Linked DNA regions of Homo sapiens: all the other regions are linked to region 3. Evidence: promoter capture Hi-C in human tissues and cell types (Jung and others, 2019). All regions are on one chromosome and are shown on one strand. The core of a region is centred on a gene start or on the middle of the fragment in contact, and the rest is flanking DNA. Distances in the headings are between cores, read along the strand shown.

Region 1 (2,700 bases), core at 1-2,500, 380 kb after region 3:
AGGGAACCCCACAGGCTTCGAGGTGGTCCACGGACTCCACCCCCAGAGCGGCTTCCTGCACCACCAGCCCCACCACCCTCACGCCTCGCCTCCCTGCATTTACCCGACAGCAGAAAAAGCCTCCAGCGCTGGAAGCCGCCCCGATGGGTACTGCCACTCTTGGACTGATCTAGCCCCGGCCACCCTGTGCATCCAGGCAGCCCAGACCCTGCCTATCTCGGCTGCTGGTGGCAAACAGTGGCACAGTTGTCACCCCCAATTGCTCAAGAGGTGGGGGAACCCAGATGCTTCCAGGGGCCCAGGAAGGGCATCTGAAAGCAATTTTTCCGTCCAGGAGTTCCAGGGGTGGAGGGGACCAGGCAAGTCCCTGGAGTCAGAAGGTTTGGCACCAAATCCAACGCCTGACTGGGCTCCAGGCACCCCGGTCTGAAGGGGGCAGGCGGGGACCTGAGGCTGGGGAACATGTGGGCCACGTGGGGACCCCTCATCCTCACCCCAATATTGCTCCCACCCCAGACCAGCCCCTCACATGCAGGACATTCTGTGACCACCTCTCAGAGCCACAGACCTCAGTCCCGCAAAAGGACTCCGGGCCCTGGTGGTTTCAAAGCAGAACCTTTTCTGGGAGCTCAACATGTCAAACACAGCAAAGTGGGGCTTGGCCTGAGGGGCACAGGGGCGCGTGCAGGGCACAGGGGTGTGTGCGGGGCACAGGGGTGCATGCAGGGCACAGGGGTGCGTGCGGGGCACAGGGGTGCCTGCGGGGCACAGGGGTGCATGTGGGTCACAGGGGTGCCTGCGGGGCAGAGAGGTGCCTGTAGGGCAGAGGAGTGTCTGTGGGGCAGAGGGGTGCGTGTGGGGCAAAGGGGTGCCTGTAGGGCAGAGGGGTAGCCTGTAGGGGAGTGGGGTGCCTGTAGGAGAGGGGTGCCTGCGGGATTGGACCCCATGTTGCCTTCCCCAACTTCCATGGCCATTCCTGAGGAATTCTGCAAAGCACAGCTTGGGAACTTGAACCTCGCTTTACACCAAGGGAGCACTGAGGCACCCAGAGGGCAGGCATCCGGTCCAGGCTCATAGCACGGTAGAGACCCACCCTGGGCGGCACCCCATGGATAACTGGTGCCCGCTGTCAGAATCAACCAGCACTAACCAGGGAGACAGAAGGACACCACACCTCCCGTCTCACGAGCACACACACGTGTACGCACGTGTGCACATACTCATGTGGGGGCATACACACACATGCACACACAGGACAGGGGCACCTCAGGCCATCGGAGGCAGCCCTGGCCTGGGGGATGGAAGCTGGTTCTGGCCAGCAAAGCTCAGTCATCGGCTTCAATCCGCAGACCCTCCGCCCGAACCTGGGCGCTCAGCCCCGAAGTGGAGGATCGAGATTCCAGTGCCTTCCTCAGGTCTCTGGGGAAGTGTCCACAGGCTCTCTATTCCCATGACTTCTGATCCCCCAGCAGCCGGGATGCAGGGGTAGGTCGGCTGGGTGAGGGCCCCTGGAATGGGGGAGGCCCTCTGTGCTCAGTTCCTGACAGTGGTGGGGTGGGGCTGCCTCATCACCCCCCTGCCTGCTCTCAGTGGAGGGAGAATCTCTGCCGGGCAAGGAGCAGAGGCTGGGTCCTCCTGCTGGCCTCCCAGAGGTGACCCTCGGTGACAGTAGGGGGCCACCCAGGGTATGCGGTGGGAGGGGCTGGGGGCCACAGGCAAATGCTCCACTGCTGTCCTGGGCATCTGCCGTGCCCCCTTGGTTGGTTCCTGGGTAACAGGCCGCTGAGGGCTCCACCTGCCGGGGAGGTGCACCTGGCTTAGCCGCGCAGCCCGGTGCCTGTGAAACACGGGCCTCATGGGTGTCTGTGGCTTTCCTGCCCATGAAAGCCATCCTGCAAGCTGGGCAGTAGGTGTGTCGGGTAGATGTCCACCCACCCCATGTCCTCTCCGGAGCGTGAGGTGCCAACCCAGCAAAGGCAGGACCCTTAGGGTGAAGGGTGGGCTTGGAACCCCCGCCAAGGGACTCGAGGGTCTGTGCCCGCAATTTGCAGTTAATGATGCTGTCTGCTCTCCTCCAAAGGGCAGCCCGCCTGCCCTCTCATCAGACTACATCCTGTGTGAGGTTGTTTTTATCAACGCGGTCAGCACTGCCCCTCTTCAACAACAGCGTCCCCAATGGAATCCCAGGGTCAGGAATGCGCAGCAGGCAGTCGGCAGAGCAGCAAGCGCACCGCGGGCCATATAAAGCAGGGAGAGCCCAGGGGCCATGCCTCCTGGACGAGGACCCAGAGCAGCTCTGCCCAGCCCAGCCCCGGAGCCCAGCGATCCACCAGCCAGCCTTCCTGGGAGCAGTCCCAGCCACACGGTGAGCATAGCTGCCCTGTCCCCAGCAGGAACCCCAGCTCAGGCCCTGCCCAGGCAGGAGCCAGGCATGGGCAGTCAGAGGGCACACAGAAGCACAGGGAGGGAGTGCCCGGAGAGGGGACACCAGTGCCTCCCCTGCCAACAGCCCAGAGCAGCACAGATTGGTCACGGCTGCCCTGCCAGGGCTGGGACCCAGCCTCACCCGTGCTTTTCCTGTCCCTTCCTGGCTGTGGGGCCTGAAGCCCTGACTCGCGCTGGGGCCGCCTGTCCCGTGATGAGCATCCCCACTTTCTACCAGATTCTTGAAGGGGTGCATGAACCCCTAAAAGGGGTGAA
Region 2 (2,700 bases), core at 54-2,553, 440 kb before region 3:
CTAGGCCTGACCTCCAGGCTGGTCATCGCTTTTGTTTATATTCTGGGCTGAGCTGGAACTCACACTTGGAACATTCCCACAGTGCTTGGCGCTTCCTCGTATTGTTGTATTTTTCTCCAGGAGGGAAGTGACCAACATCAGACTTTCCTCCCAGCAGACAAATTCCATACACAAAGCTTTGTGTGAGCTACCGGGTACCCGCCTGAGAGCCCAGCCTCTGTTTCTTTGGTTCTGGGTGGGTGAGTGTGCACATTACAGGGATCCACGAGCCCTTCCCTTCTGAGCCATTTCTATCTAAAAAAAAAAAAAAATCTCCTTCAAGAAGTGAGCACCGCCTTGCAGGATCCTGACTCAGAGTTCGTCTGGAGCCAACAGCGTCTTGCGTGTAGGGACAGGCACTCCTTAAAATGTTTCCTACTTCAGTGGCCACAATATTACCCCTCTGGCTTATGTCATGTTCCACAATCAAAATATCATTCCTCCTGGAGTCCAGCTACTCGGGAGGCTGAGGCAGGAGGATCACTTGAGCCTAGGAGTTTGAGGCCACCTGGGCAATATAGGGAGACCCTGTCTCTTAAAAAAAAAAATTATTCCTGAGGTACAGATGTTTGTAAGATAAATTTTATTTTAATTATACTAAGAGAATGATTATTTACTAGAATATTGCAGTGGATCTTACTCTGATATGGGGGAGAAAATCCCTAGTGAGGGTAAATAATTTTTTTCAATGTATTGTATCTAAAGCTTGGAGATTTATAGGTAATAATAATAAAAACAGTGACAGCTATTCTCATTGAGTATCTGCTGTGTACCAACAAATTTTAAACATCTTTATTTTAGTTTAGTTTTTTAGAGATGGGTTCTCGCTCTGTGGCCCAGACTGGAGTGCAGTGGTGTGATCACAAATCACTGCAGTCTTGACCTCCTGGGCTCAAATGATTCTCCTGCCTCAACCTCCCACCTCAGCCTCCCAAGTCTGAATTCTTATTTAACCTTTAAACTACCCATGAAGTAGACAGCATAATGGTACACATGAATGTATGTGAAAATACAAGGTGTGGAAAGGTTTAGTTTCTATCCCAAAGTTGTTCAGCTAGGAAGTGCCCCCATAGATTCAAACCAGGCCAGCTGGCCTTCAAAGCCAATTCCTTCACACTGCCCTCCTGCCTCCTCTGGTCATGAGGAAATGGGTAGCAGAGGTTTTCCTAGCCAAGGATAAAGATTTGGGGGCTGGATCCAGCCCTCCAACTAAATGCCTAGCGTTGATCCCTGCCCCTCTCTGAGGAATCTGTGAAATGGGGAAGGGAGTCGCTGGAGCAGATGATCTTGTGGATCTCCTTGGGTTTTACAGAGATTTGAGGCTTGGAGTAGTCATACCTGAAGGAGTGACCTTGATAACACATGGCCAGGTCGGGTCTGATTGAAGGCAGTTCGTACAGCCACAGCGTTCTCGGCGTATTTGTGCAAGGCTTGGAAACTCATCACAGTGGCTGTGCAGTCAGCCTTCTGCTTCTGGTAACAGTTCACTTTTGATTCTTCCCATTTGTGAAGAATCAGAAAAATTTTCTGTTGTCTCCCTGAAATGTGGACTGGAGATGGGTCGCTTGCCCATCTTGGATTGCAAGCATATTGGTCTTTGGGGATGGCTCTATGTTTTTTTGTTTGTTTGCTTAGTCTGGGACACTGCAGAGGGGATGACTGTAAAAGACGCTTTCTGAGCTGGGGATTAGAGAGGAATTCTTAAGATTAGGTTATTCTGTTGCTCTCCCCCTCCCCCTACCCCTGAACAGTTCACATTGGAGTTATTTTGGGGGAGCCATGATTGAGAAGGGTTGGACCACAGGGTCCTCATTTCAAAGCTGTTCTCTCAAGGAAAAATGTCCAGTTCATTCTAAAGGTTCATCAGTATATTAGTTGTTTGGAACCTAGGATGCGTTTTTTCATGGAAACACAGTTACAAATGTGTTGGCCCCCAGCTGAGAAACGAGAGAGGGCACACCTGAGCCCAGGTTCTGTAACTGTGACCCATTGTTGTCTGTGTGCACAGGCGCCAGGAGGAGCTGCCCCAGACACGGCTCCTGACTTCAGGGGCTTCGCACTCCTGATAGGGAAGAAATTCCAGGGCCCAGAGTGGCCTGAGCTAAGGAGTGGGGAAGTGGAGGAAACAGCGCCCCAGCCGCCCATACCCTCTGACTCTTGCTAGGAGAGGAGAGGTTGTTTATGGATTAGAAACTCTGGTTAATGCATTCCAGGGGGTGGGGACAATCAGTGTGTGTATGTTGGGGATAATTCTCATTGGTTTATTCTGTCACCTATCCACTCATTTATTCAACAGAGAGTTATTAAGCACCTACTGTGTGCCAGGTATTCTGCTGTGCAACTGTTAGTTTTCACTGGACCCCTCTCGCGTGGTGGGGGTTCCCTGTGCTTTATTCCAGTTTGTGGCTGCAGTTTAATCTGGGGAGGAGCTTGCGGGCTCTGTGAGGGAAACAGGGAGCCTCTGCACCCATGCTCTTTCCTGCCACCTCATTGGAGACGGTGCGACAGACACATGCCATTTGCTTTGCCAAGTTTGGACTCTCAGGCCGTGATTTTGCAAAAATGATCTCTGTATTGGTAGATCAATTATGAGGCCTTAAGATCTTGTAGAGATTTGGATTTTGGTTTTTGTCTGTTTTGCATAAATTGGAAAGATTATTT
Region 3 (2,700 bases), core at 72-2,571:
GAGCGGCGACAGCGCGCTCACAATGATCATAAAATAAAGGAGGCGCGCGGGGTGGGGGCGAGAGAGCCCCGAGCCTCAGCCCTCCGCCCCCGGCCGCCCCCCCGAAGCCCCAAGCCGGGAGGAGGGTGGGGGCCGGGGGCGCCCACGCCGGCCCCAGACTCCAGTAGAGCCAAGGGACAGTGCCCGGGGAAGGGGGTGGGGGCGCCCCAAGAACGTGCCCGCGGCCGGGTCAGGGGCGTCCGGAGAGCGGCTGCCCGGGCCAGCGGAGTGGCCCCCGGGGCAGGTGAGTCGGCGGCGCCGCCCGAGTGGGGGCGTGCGCGCCAAAGTTCCCCGGCAGCGGCGAGCGCGCCCGACGCGTGGGGACCCGGGGCTGCTCGCGGCTGGAGAGGGGCGACAGAGGCGCTTGACGCGGCGGAGCGGGGGCACTATGCCCTCCGAGGGCCGAGGGACCCCAGCCGGGAAAGGGGTGCCCGCCGGATCCGACGGCACTGGTGGGTGGCCCTGCGCCCAGGGAGCCGGAGGGACCGGGGTGGGGAAGGGGCACCTGGCGCTGGCGGCGCGGCGGTGGGGACAGAGCAGGGCAAGTGCTCGCCGCCCCCTGCAGCGGCAGCCGCTCGCCCCCCACCCCGCCCGTCCGGGACGGTATCAGCGGAGATGTCACGGGCGGCTATTATTCGCTGGTGCGCGCGGTCGTGCGGCCGCCACTGACGGGGCGGGCGCGGGGGGCGGGGGCCACCGCCTCCGGGGAGACCGCCCAGAGCTGCGCCGTCAGCTCCGCAGCCCGCGCCCAGCGCACACGCGTCGCCGCCCCCGCGCGCCCCCCGCAGCAAAGTTCGGCTTAACTTTGAGGCTGGCCTTGACGCGCTGTCCCTTCCACCTCCCACCAGGTCCTCGGCGGCCGCGGCGAAGCAGGCGGCGGCGGCCGGAGCGCAGCCCCGGGACCCTGCACGGCGGCCGGCAGCGACAGCGGCGAAGGGACGCGGCGCCCCTGCGTGGGGACGTCCGGCCCGCGCCCGCGAGTGGGCGCCGACGGGGACCCGCGCCGCGCTCCCCCGTCACCGGCGAGCGGCCGGAGCCCTGAGCTCGCCTCCTGGAAGCCGCGGGTCGGCGCTCGCCCCGAGGGCGCCGGGACCTCGGCCGGGTGAACACAAACTGCTCTGCAATTGATTCGACCGCGCCGGGCGGGTGCGGGTGCGGGGCCCGGAGGGAGCGCGTGCGGAAGGCCGGAGGGCAGGAAGTCAGGCTTCTGCCGCGAGGGTGGCGCGGCCGCGCGGGGACAGAGCCTTCCTTATTTATGAGTCTGCCGGCGCTCGCCTGCTTCCTCCGAAGACTTCAGGGAGAGTCTGCGAGCTGCCGTCCCCGCGTGTGAGGCACAGAAGGGCTGGATGTCAGAACCGCATAATTATTCATTAAACTACAAACTTTTTTTAACCCAAAGAATATCGGTGATTTTTGTCCACTGCGAGGAGAAGAAGAGAGAGCCCAGGGCTCATGAAATGCAGCAGAATCCTTATTTATAAACAGGCCGCGGTAGTGATATATGCAACCCCAGTCTACTCAGTGAGTTTTCTATCCTATGGATATCGGTCTTGAGAGTTGAGATTGGAGAGCAGCGCCGTCTGTACTGGGTCCTGCAGCCTCTGTCCTTTCAATGCCTGGTTTTTTCTGTGACTGCTGGCCTTCCCTGGAGATCAGAGCGCTCCTGTATGCCATGGGCTGTATTCAGAGCATCGGAGGCAAAGCCAGAGTCTTCCGGGAAGGGATCACGGTGATTGATGTGAAAGCCTCCATCGACCCCGTCCCCACTAGCATCGATGAGTCCTCCAGCGTGGTGCTCCGCTACCGGACACCCCACTTCCGGGCCTCGGCCCAGGTGGTCATGCCGCCCATCCCCAAGAAGGAGACTTGGGTAGTTGGCTGGATCCAGGCGTGCAGCCACATGGAGTTCTACAACCAGTACGGCGAGCAGGGCATGTGAGTACGGCCGAGAGCCAGCTCTGGGAACTGCTAGGGATGGCCGAGCTTGGAGGCCTGGTGGGGGGCCGCGGATAGGGGGAAGGTGGAGATACCATGAAGACAGGACGGAGGCCAGAGGGAAGCTTTAGGCAGGTATGCAGGTGGCCTCATTGGCCCGGTGGCTCCCTGAAAAGTTTGCCTGTGGATCCAGATTGGAGTCACGGTCCTGCAATCTACCCTGCCACTGTTCCCCCCGGGTTCCTGTGTCCTTCCCTGCAAGATGCCGAGAAAGCAGAGAGACATTACTCCCAGTGTTTCCTGGCAGAGCAAGTGTGCCGTCCGCCTGAGGAGTGTCTGTGCCATCAGGGGTCACCAGAGAGGCTGCAGGGCTGCCCTCCAGGCCTCTGGCCCTGTGCGGGCCCATGGCAGACATTCAGGCACTCTGCAACTCCCAGACCGGTGTGTTCAGGGCTTTGCGATTGGGCCTCAATTATCTTTCTGGCTTTTACCAGTGTATGCCAGGAGCTGGGGGAGTGCTTCCCCGTTCCAAACGGCACTGTGTTTGAGAGCACAGTTAGTTTTAGAAGCCCGATTTCTTCACAGTGTATCGCTTTCTGTCTCCAAGGCAGAAGACCGCTTTATGCAGACAAGTCCAGTGTCCCTCTGGCGAGGCCCTAACAGGAACAGCAAAGAGGAGCCTCTCCTCTGCAGCCCCAAAGCCCGGTCTCCAGAGTGTGCCTAGGG

The links. Contacts are between HindIII fragments. The study calls those that stand out against the background at their distance.
Region 1: the fragment with the promoter of QRFP here is called in contact with the fragment with the promoter of FAM78A in region 3 in 2 of the 25 tissues and cell types used here (bladder and liver).
Region 2: a fragment that was not itself captured here is called in contact with the fragment with the promoter of FAM78A in region 3 in 1 of the 25 tissues and cell types used here (dorsolateral prefrontal cortex).

The regions. Positions count from the first base shown.
Region 1 is chr9:130,895,362-130,898,061 of GRCh38, reverse strand. It overlaps QRFP (pyroglutamylated RFamide peptide), which reads left to right and starts at 1,250. Exons shown (of 3, transcript NM_198180.3): 1 at 1,250-1,485; 2 at 2,081-2,365. RefSeq lists enhancers at 1,755-2,441, 2,442-2,700. The HindIII fragment of the contact is 19,380 bases long and covers 228-2,700 here.
Region 2 is chr9:131,711,941-131,714,640 of GRCh38, reverse strand. All of the region lies in intron 1 of RAPGEF1 (Rap guanine nucleotide exchange factor 1), which reads left to right. Among named protein-coding and RNA genes, the nearest start is that of RAPGEF1, 27 kb to the left of the region's middle. RefSeq lists enhancers at 1,572-2,071, 2,072-2,573. The HindIII fragment of the contact is 4,070 bases long and covers 1-2,700 here.
Region 3 is chr9:131,275,131-131,277,830 of GRCh38, reverse strand. It overlaps FAM78A (family with sequence similarity 78 member A), which reads left to right and starts at 1,321. Exons shown (of 2, transcript NM_033387.4): 1 at 1,321-1,974. The coding sequence starts at 1,652. RefSeq lists a silencer at 1-1,151 and enhancers at 1,792-2,291, 2,452-2,501, 2,532-2,581, 1,994-2,606, 2,592-2,641. The HindIII fragment of the contact is 9,704 bases long and covers 1-2,700 here.